Regions from separate parts of the Homo sapiens genome. Here region 2 is linked to region 1. The links are contacts of gene promoters, found by promoter capture Hi-C in blood cells and fetal thymus (Javierre and others, 2016). All regions are on one chromosome and are shown on one strand. Each heading gives the region's core, a stretch centred on a gene start or on the middle of the fragment in contact. The rest is flanking DNA. Distances are from core to core; before and after follow the strand shown.

Region 1 (5,340 bases), core at 2,119-4,618:
TAGTTCTGTTTAGTCTAGTTCTGCTTATTCTGTGCAGAAAGCGTATTGCTTCATTCTAAAAACCCCAAAATCCTACAGCATGTATCCTATCAATATGACAACTTTCATATCTTTGATTAGAATCACATGGCTAGAAAAGGGATTTGGAAGTCATTAACCAGCAGGGAGGTTTATGCCAGCATTACATAGCAGATGGATAAACTGTAAACAATCTGAATGTTTCAAACTTGCACAATTTTTTGGTGCAATCAAAATATAGAAAATTATGCAGTCATTAAAAGTGCTGCTGAGTGAATATAATTTAAAGAAGTATTTCTGATATATTATTAAGCTTAAAAAGCAGGATATGAAAATATATGCAATATAATGCCAACCATGTAAGATCAAAGATAGAGAAATGGAGAGAGATATATTGGGAAAGGCAGAGAAAAAAACCAAACTGGAAGAACATACTCCAAAATGTTAACAGTGGTTATCTCTGGGAAAGAGGATAACTGTAGCTTTATATTTTCCTCTTCATCCTTTTCCATATTCCTGGATTCTCCAGAATAAGATTGCATTATTTTTAAAACTAAACAACTTTTAAAAGTAGTTTCATCAAAGTATAGTAAATGTATTTTATGGAAATTTTCCTAGTGTACAGTAAACATATTATTTAAAATGAAAAAAAGATATCCTACCCAGACAGAAGCCCTAGAGAAGAACATCAGGACAAATACGATAACAAAATACCAAAGCAGGAAGCTCCCTATGGTTCCACAAGAGTCATCCTTCCAGCATTCATAATCCTGATTTGGAATGGCACAATTTACAGGTATTGGGGGAGGATCTACCTCCCAAAATAAGGAAAAAAGGTCTCCCATGATGACTCCTTGCTCAGAAAATAAACCATGCTTAAAGGGATAAAGATGACTGGGAACTACTTCACTCCCTCTATGATGTATGACAATTTCCTTGGCAACCTATTATGACACATACTTAAGCAACTGTTCTAGGAACTGACAAATGCTTCTTGGACTTCTAAGTTTGTGGAAGGTTATTCAAATTACTCCTCTGAATGTTTATGTTATTTTCCCCCATACCTCAATATGGTGCATTCTGCCTTAATTTTTTTTCCTAAAACTTGTATATGCTATATTTTCCTATCTTCACGTCTAAGTGTTTAATGTATCCACTCATTTTAATTCAGTCTCTTTTATATGTATCATGCCATTGCAAATTATCATAGACAGTTCTAATGTATTACCGATCAAACTGTGTTCCCTAAAATTCATATGTTGAAGCCCTCACCTCCAGTGTGACTCTATTTGGAGACAGGGCCTTTAAGGAGGTAATTAAAGTTAAATGAGGTCATAAGGGCCCTAATCCAATACAATTGGTATCCTTACAAGAAGACAGCAAGGATTCACGAGCACAGAAATCAAGGTCACAATACAAGGGGGCCGTCTGCAAGGAGACCCGCCTCAGGAGAAACCAACCCTGCTGACAATTTGATCTTAGACTTCCAGCCTCCAAAATTATGAAAAAAATAATTTCTGTTGTTTAAGCCACCTGTCTGTGATATTGCGTTATGGCAGCCCTAATACATAATGCTGTCATTTGGTCAGTGGTGTTCTTTTTTAAGCCTTGAATAAATGCACAACAGCTTATAGATTAAGAGGGAAAAACACAGATGTGCCCGTTATGAACTACTATGAACTACATCAAATGCATACAATTTCTTCTTAGGAAAGAGTCACATATGGAGGGGGTGGGAAACCGGTATTCTAATTTTTTTTTTTTTTTTTTTTAGCAGGGTCTCACTCTGTCGCCCAGACTGGAATGCAGTGGCACCATCTTGGCTCACCGCAACCTCGGCTTCCCAGGCTCAAGTGATTCTCCTGCCTCAGCCTCCAGAGTAATTGGGATTACAGGCGCATGCCACCACGCCCTACTAATTTTTTGTCTTTTTAGTAGAGACAGGGTTTCAGCGTCTTGGCCAGGCTGGTCTCCATCTCCTGACCTCGTGATCCGCCCGCCTCGGCCTCCCAAAGTGTTGGGATTACAGGCGTGAGCCACCGCGCCCGGCCGGTATTCTAATTTTGATTGCACCTTGAGCCCTTTCACTTTGAACAATTTTCCAGTTAGTTCATCTCTAAATCTAAAACTAGAGCAAAACAACATTGCTGCTAAAGCAATCTAAAAATGATAAAACTTAACAGCTCTTCAAGAGCACAGCATACCTGCCGATTTTCATTAATATACAATACCACGTGGTATTAATCTTAGGATCATTTTAGGAAAAACTTTGGCCATTGGACATACATGATGTAATCCACTAGCTTACTGTGGCATGGCTTAATGTTTTTATTAGGAGGCACACTTCAGAACAAGTCCCCAGGCCCTGGGTTTCTGGCTGTGGACTCTAACGCGTCATCTCCTCCAGGAAGCTCGCGAGAGCTGGGGCTGGGCTGGATGCGCCTCCTTGGGGAGCACTGCATCCACCTCACCTGCCACCGAAATGCATCTGTGGGCCTCCGCTGGGGTTGAGCTCCTCTGGGTAATAACCAGGAAGGTCTTATTTTCTATATCCGTGCGCCTGGCTCAGCGGCACACTTGTAGGTATTTGTGCTAAATAAAACAAAGCTCAACCTTTTCCTCAGGATGAGCAGCTCTTCCAAAAAATACATACGAAAATGTGTTATTATTTTTAACCTCAAAACCACTAGCAACTTCAATAAAACAAATTTTGGGTGTGCTTGTTATTGCTGCACCCTATTAAACAGATTAAGAATTTAGGCCGGGCGCGGTGGGCCACGCCTGTAATCCCAAAAGGCGGTGGGAGGCCAGCAGGCGTTTGGGAGGCTGAGGCGGGCGGATCCCTTGAGGTTAGGAAATCGAGACCAGACTGGCCAACATGGCGAAACCCTGTCTCTACCAAAAAAAAAATTACATGGGGTCAGGACTCTTGACATAGATACTTTAACACAGGGGAAAGAAATGCTTTGTCACTGATGGTGTCTGGCCACTTTATCACGCCACTCTATCCTACGGTGAGCCGCCCTACTTAATCAGTTTACACATGTGAGTCCATAAATGCCCTAGGGAAGCTAAAATTATATTAATAGATACAAAATTCAGCTTGTTACAATTATTACTTTTTACTGCGGGTTCAGAGCCTGGTCTGAATTTTGCTGCTTAGCTTTCTCCCGCAGCTGAGTGGGAGCCGCAAAACCGAGACCTGTTTCCCTGGTAACGCTCCGAGCGCCTGGGCCTGCGACCCCTCCCTTTCTCGCGAGAAGAGACTACCTAGTTCTTCCGGTAACTTTAGAGCCGCTTGCCGGTGGCCTCCCGCTTGAGCTTGGCTTTGCGCATGCCCAGAGAGAGTGGCGCGAGCCTGCGTTTTCCGGCCAGAGGACATGGTGCGTTTTCGGGGTCGTGTTTGTGCTTCCTGTCTTGGAATCTACGCGGGTTGTGGGAGTTCCGCGCCTGCTGATCTGTCCTGGGTTCAGCCAAGGGGGATGTGGCTAGGCGTTCCGCCTCTCTAGGGGAAGGGAAGAAAGAAGCAATAGGGTTGCTGAAGTTCGTGCCCAGGAGCCGGGGAGGGAAGCTCTGGACTGGGAAATTGGGACGCGGGGGCTGAGTGGCGCGAAAGCTATTGCTCTGTCCTCTGTGGGATACGACTGCTTGTCGCTGGAACAAGTTTTGCACGGTCTGTAAGAGTTGAGCCTAGCTGAAGAAAGGAGGAATTATAAATCCCAAATGTGGACCAAAACAATGCACGTTTTCCCCTCTCTCCCTCTTACTCCGCTCACCACCCCATCATAAGTACGTGCCCTTCTAAAACTTGGATCCTTGTCCTTTATCCACACACAAAAGGGAGAGCCCTGGAGTACAGCTGTCCAAGTGCAGAGTTGTTGAGATAGTAATGGCGTCTGCATGAGGATGTACAACAGTCTTTATGACTTACAGCAGATATGGAATATAGTCTCCCAAAACTTGACATTTTGAGTTTCTGAAGTTAGCCTTTTGCCTAGTCCGTGTAACATACCCCAAAGACAAAATACAAAGTATTTCTAGACATAACCCTTAAATTACAAAATAAGACATTTTTATGTATTGGAAGTATTAAATTGTTCTTAAATAACCAGCCACGGCTGGGCGCGGTGGCTCACGCCTGTAATCCCAACACTTTGGGAGGCCGAGGCGGGTGGATCACAAGGTCAGGAGTTCGAGACCAGCCTGGCCAAAATGTTGAAATCCCGTCTCTACTAAAAATACAAAAATCAGTCGGACGCGGTGGCGGGCGTCTGTAATCCCAGCTACTCGGGAGTCTGAGGCAGGAGAATCGCTTGAACCCGGGAGGCGGAGGTTGCAGTGAGTCGAGATCGCGCCACTGCATTCTAGCCTGGGAGACAGCAAGACTCCGTCTCAAAACAAATAAATAGATAAATAACCAGCCACTTCTCTGTTGATTACACTGTGATGCCAATTAAGTTACATATAATTTTGGGTTCCCTTTTCATATACTGATATTAAAATGGAAGAAGTTTTGATAAAACATTTTAAAGATGAGAGAAGGTATATGCGGTTTCAGTTACCTTTATAAGGGATGCAAAATTTGGTTTTTAAATGGAGCAATAGTTTCTTCTGGTTAATTCCTGTGCTTTTTGTTTTTTCATAGATGCAGGGGGAGGCACACCCTAGTGCTTCCCTTATTGACAGAACCATCAAGATGAGAAAAGAAACAGAGGCTAGGAAAGTGGTCTTAGCCTGGGGACTCCTAAATGTATCTATGGCTGGAATGATATATACTGAAATGTAAGTGAATCAGTCCAAAAAAAGTGAAACTTTAAGAAGCCAGTGGCTGGTTCCACAGGTTTTTGTGTTTGTTTTTGATTTTTGGTGTTTTTAGGTTCACTGGAAAGCCTTTCTAATTTTTTTTCAGGACTGGAAAATTGATTAGTTCATACTACAATGTGACATACTGGCCCCTCTGGTATATTGGTAAGTAAGTAATTTTCACTGTAACTTACATTTACCAATAAAAAACTGCCTTCAGGTTTAATTCAGCTTAGTATACATTTCCTTATTCAACAAGTATTTGACTGCCTGCTGGGTTGTAAAAACTGGGAATACAGCAGAAAGGGAGCAAGGTAAATCCCTGCTATTATGAAAGGAACATTCTGTTAGACAATCAGATTAATAACACTTCAGGTAATTATGAGTTCTGTGAAGAAAAATAAGTTTAGAGGTTAGTGAGATTTGTTTTTATTACTCTCCTGAAATGCGCTTTCTGTGTCTCTACCTTTTTACTTTTCAAGACCAGCCCAGATTTCTGCTCCATTGATGCCTTCCTCA
Region 2 (5,340 bases), core at 794-3,293, 490 kb before region 1:
ATGTGGCACATATACACCATGGAATACTATGCAGCCATAAAAAATGATGAGTTCATATCCTTTGTAGGGACATGGATGAAATTGGAAACCATCATTCTCAGTAAACTATCGCAAGAACAAAAAACCAAACACCGCATATTCTCACTCATAGCTGGGAATTGAACAATGAGATCACATGGACACAGGAAGGGGAATATCACACTCTGGGGACTGTGGTGGGGTCGGGGGAGGGGGGAGGGATAGCATTGGGAGATATACCTAATGCTAGATGACACATTAGTGGGTGCAGCGCACCAGCATGGCACATGTATACATATGTAACTAACCTGCACAATGTGCACATGTACCCTAAAACTTAGAGTATAATAAAAAAAAAAAAAAAGAAGTTTACGGATAAAAGAAAAAAAAAATAAAGTTTAAATAAAGTTTATAAATTAAAAAAAAAAAAAAAGAAAACACAACCATAAGTCAAAACATTAATTAACCTATTTACATCAAAAAAGCTTTCCAACACCGAGGTAATACTTCACACCCACTGGGATGACTACAAGTGAAAAACAAAAACAAAAACAACAACAACAACAACAACAACAAAAAACCACCAGAAAATAAATGTTTGCAAGGATGTGGAGAAATTGGAACCTCATACATTGCTAGTGGGAATGTAAAATGGTTAGCCATATGATCTAGCATTTACACTCCTAGGTAAATGCTAGCACTATATGCTGCAAATAATAAAAACAGGCACTCAAATAAGCACATGTACACACATGTTCATAACAGCACTATTGATAATAGTCAAAAGGTGGAAACAGCCCAAATGTCTATCAGTGGAAGAGTGGATAAACAAATTGCAGTATATTCATAAGCATATTTTTCAGTGATTAAAAAAAAGGATGAAGTACCGTACCTAATACATGCTATAACATGGATGAACCTCTAAAACATTAGCTAAGTGAAAGAAGCCAGACACCAAAGATCACATATTGTATGATTCCATTTGTATGAAATATCCAGAATAGATAAATTCATAAAGATAGAACACAGATTGGTGGCTGCCAGGTACTGGCAGGTTAGAGAGAAAGAGGAGAAACTGTTTAATGTGCAAAAGGTTTTACTTTAGAGTGAAGAAAATGTTTCAAAACTAGATAGATGCGGTGGTTGCACAATGCTGCAAATGAACTAAATGTCACTGAATTTAAAATAGTTAATTTAAAAAATCTTGGTGGAGGCACACACACACACACAAAAGCTTTCTATCCAGGGAAAAAATTAATGGACAGCTAATAGAATTAAAGAAAATTATTCATACCATTTAAAGCTGACTATGGGTTGATATCTAGAATATATAACAAAATCTTGCAAATTCACAAGAAAATGTCAGCAACTTCATTAAAATAATAGGCAAAAGATATGAATCAGCATTTAAATAAGGAACCAAAAGTTGATAAATATGAAGAAATGTTTAAACTCATTAATAATCAAAGAAATGCAAATTGAAACAACAGTGAAATAGGGAAGAATTAGAAAGTTGAATGATACTAAGTGTGGATGGGGCAATGTGACTTAGCTCATGTTCGCCAAAAGCCAATCTTGAGACATAGATTTATTTTCAAATAACTTATTAAGAAAGTCATCCCAGCATAAACTGGTAAGGAAGTTGGGGATGAAGGACAGAAAAATAGAAGAAACTAAAGAAAGATGTACTGTATTTCAGACAGAGTCCTAGCCTTAATCTGATCCTATAAGGGAGTTCTGGAGAGGAAATTATGCCTCAGCCTGAAAGAGTCTAAGGCAAAGGAGCTGGGCTTTCATCCTTATACTGCAGTGGTCCATTGACTACAGATGTACTGGGGGTACCTAATCTCCCAGACACTTCCTATTCTCTGGGATAAGTGGCTCCAGTAGCCCAAGGGCAATCCTTCAAAGCAGATATTTAAAAGAGGCAGCCATTGTGGAGTGCAATTTGGCATTTCTTTCTTTCTTTCTTTTTGAGACAAAGTCTCACTCTGTCGCCCAGGCTGGAGTACAGTGGCACTCTGTTGGTTCACTGCAACCTCCGCCTCCCGGGTTCAAGCAATTCTCCTGCCTCAGCCTTACGAGTAGCTGGGACTACAGGTGCGAGCCACCACACCCGGCTAATTTTTGTATTTTTAGTAGAGATGGGGTTTTGCCATGTTGGTCAGGTTGGTCTCCAACTCCATGTTGGTCAGGTTGGTCTCCAACTCCTGACCTCAGGTGATCTGCCAGCCTTGGCCTCCCAAAGTGCTGAGATTACAGGCAGCAATTTGACATTTCTCAGACAAATTATATTAAACAAATATATCTTATGACCCAGCATTTTTATTTTTTAGACATATATTCCCCCAAAATATAACATGAGGTTCATAAGGAGAATATTTAGTTGCCCACAGGGTGTGGCTTTTTCCACAGAACGCTGCAGGTCACTAATGTGATCCTACCTACTGAGGAGTCACATGGGCTGGTTTCGTCATCCCGACCTTTTCGCATCATTGGATCTACTGAATCATAAGAGCCAAGTGACAGAGCTGCTTGCTTGCAGCCTGAACCAGCTGAAGGAACTTTTCTTGCTTTAAGTCCCACTAAAATTTGTCAGTTTTTCAAAGTCACCTATTGGATTTGTCAGTGTAACACACCCAAATGTGCCATTGGTTGCCACCAAAAATTTTACATTTTTCTTACTGTAAGGCAGGCCAGTCCACTGAGGAGGAGATAACCTGTATACTCCTAAACTGGACCCTCTAGAAGATGCATTAATGTAAAAGCCCTCAGATTTTCTTCTTCCTGACATTCATGAGTTTTACCAAAGCTTTTAGGATATTCCCTGCTTTCTTAGCCCTCTCTGTAGTGGACCAGCATAATTTTCTTTGGAATGGTGAGAGGATCAAGGTTCTTCTATCAGTCAGAGTCTAATCATAAGAACGTAAACCACACTAGATATTTCAAACAAAGGGTAGTTAATAAAGGGAATTGATTACGCAGGTATTGGAACACCAAACAAGCAAAAATGAGAGGTTGAGGCAACCCACAGATTAATCTCTTTAGAAGGTACCACCTTAGACCTGGGGGAACAAAATGGAAGAAGTGATATTACCAGAACATACAGAAGAGGATACTTTACTTCTAGTGCTTAGACTGCTGAGGAAGTGTAGGCTGCACCACTCAAGGGGCTATGGCCAAATGGATAAAAGTGAATGATGGGCTTGGCTGCTACTAGTATCTTGATGGGGCATAGTGAGAATATTGCTGGGAATAACAAGCTGAAGGCTGGAATCAAATCATAGCTGTCTGCTGTAGCTGGAGAGTAAGCAAACTAGAACTGGAAACTGGAAGACACTACTTCTTACCTCCTCCACTTTATGGTTTTTGGAAGTGCCTCCAATTGGCAGAAGCTAGCTAGCAAGGGGCTCTGGAATGTGAAGTTTGCAGTGTCTAGTCACAGTGTCCTAGTGCAGAGTACAGAAAAATAATGGGCAAATATCTGACACACTTGCCGCAAAATGGTAAAGATGTATTGTTGTCCCTGCCAGATGAAAGCGAATGGTTTCTGGTATTTTTTAATCCCAGCCAAAGTAACCCAATACCTCCTAGATTTACTTGGACATCTCCAACCTGCTATAATTGGCCCTCTTGTTTGGTAGGAGGCTCTTGGACGTCACCTGTAACATAGAGATATGGTAGCACAGGAGGCAAAGTAGATAGGGGTGAAGGAATTTTTTTAAAGAGGACATAAAGAATGAGAAAAAACTCCTAGGACTACCTTTTTCAGCCATTATGTGTTACTATATTTTTGATATATGTAGGCAAATAGTACATGGCCATATTTTTAAAATCCACCCTGAGAATGTCTTTCTCTTAGGTGAACTTACTCCATTTATGTTTAATATGATTATTAATTTATTTGAACGTTTAATTTTTACCATCTTATTTTGTGTCTTCAATTTAACATGCTTTTGTTTTTGTTTTTATTCTTATTCTTTTTTAACTTATGCTACATCAATTTTTAAAATTCATTTCTATTTGTTTGAAAATTATAAATGTTCAGGCATCTCCCATTTAAGTCAATAATACTTTCCTGAAAACCAGATGTTACATATAAAAATGCTAAGTGAGGGTGTACTTCCTATAATTTTAAATGGAAATTATTATAATGGGTTACATGTCAACAAAAGTCCCCCAATCAAGTTCCTAAAACATAACTTAAGTGTCCATATATCATTAACACATTTTCATGTTAGAGAGGAAAATGCTTTAGAGTTGCTTTCTGATGAAAAACAATGAATATAAATGTTAACAAACAGTTGGTTTGATGCAATACTTTGGCCTCTCAATACCAGCAACATCTGAAACTCATATGACCCTTTGTCAATACTTGTGCTTTATAAAATGACTACATATGATTTCCACACTCTGCTAATTGTATTTGGAACGTAAATCAAATGATTACTTGCACATCTTTAAAAGGCACGTTTTTAAAGTGGTATTGAGTTTTAAGGCCATGAACATAAACTCTTCTTAGACAAATAGTGGATGAAAAATATTGTATTGAGAAATATATGTCTATAAAATTCATATTGTTTTTTGAGATGGAGTCTCACTATGTCACCCAGGATGGAGTGTAGTGGCGTGATCTTGGCTCACTGCAACCTCCACTTCCCAGGTTCGACCAATTCTCCTGCCTCACCCTCCCAAGTAGCTGGGACTACAGGCGCGCACCACCATGCCTGGCCAATTTTTTTATTTTTGTTTTTATTTTTTTAGTAGAGACAGGGTTTCACCATGTTGGCCAGGCTGGTCTTGAACTCCTGGCCTTAAGTAGTCCACCCACCTTGGCCTCCTAAAGTGCTGGGAATACAGGCATAAGCCACCATGCCCAGCCTATAAAATTAGTATCTAAAAGCAAGAAAGGCTGGGCGCGGTGGCTCATGCCTGTAATCCCAGCACTTTGGGAGGCCCAGGCAGTGGATCATGAGATCAGGAGTTTGAGACCAGCCTGGCCAATGTAGTGAAACTCCGACTCTACAAAAATACAAAAAAACTAGCTGGGCCTGGTGGCGGGCGCCTGTAATCCCAGCTACTCAGGAGACTGAGTCAAGACAATCGCTTGAACCTGGGAGGCGGAGATTGCAGTGAGATCGTGCCGCTGCACTCCAGCCTGGGAAACGGTGCAAGACTCTGTCAAAAAAAAAAAAAAAAAAAAGGCAAGAAAACATTCACAATACTAACAAGCAAGAAAGCAAGACTTTCTGTGGGATATATTTGCACATTCTTTTAGGAACTGCCTTTACAATTTCAAAATGCAATTTTTTTTTTTTTTGA

Evidence for each region. Contacts are between HindIII fragments. The CHiCAGO score rates a contact against its expected background, and 5 or more counts as called.
Region 2: a contact is called between a fragment that was not itself captured here and the fragment with the promoter of TMEM209 in region 1, in 1 of 17 cell types (erythroblasts). The highest score is 5.6, in erythroblasts.

The regions. Positions count from the first base shown.
Region 1 is chr7:130,203,434-130,208,773 of GRCh38, reverse strand. TMEM209 (transmembrane protein 209) reads left to right here and starts at 3,368. Exons shown (of 15, transcript NM_032842.4): 1 at 3,368-3,401; 2 at 4,664-4,800; 3 at 4,928-4,986. The coding sequence starts at 3,399. It overlaps SSMEM1 (serine rich single-pass membrane protein 1), which reads right to left and starts at 914. Exons shown (of 3, transcript NM_145268.4): 1 at 681-914. The coding sequence starts at 863. RefSeq lists enhancers at 3,104-3,213, 3,274-3,453, 3,130-3,929 and a silencer at 4,591-4,885. The HindIII fragment of the contact is 16,046 bases long and covers 334-5,340 here.
Region 2 is chr7:130,697,037-130,702,376 of GRCh38, reverse strand. No RefSeq gene overlaps it. Among named protein-coding and RNA genes, the nearest start is that of TSGA13, 13 kb to the right of the region's middle. The HindIII fragment of the contact is 1,578 bases long and covers 1,255-2,832 here.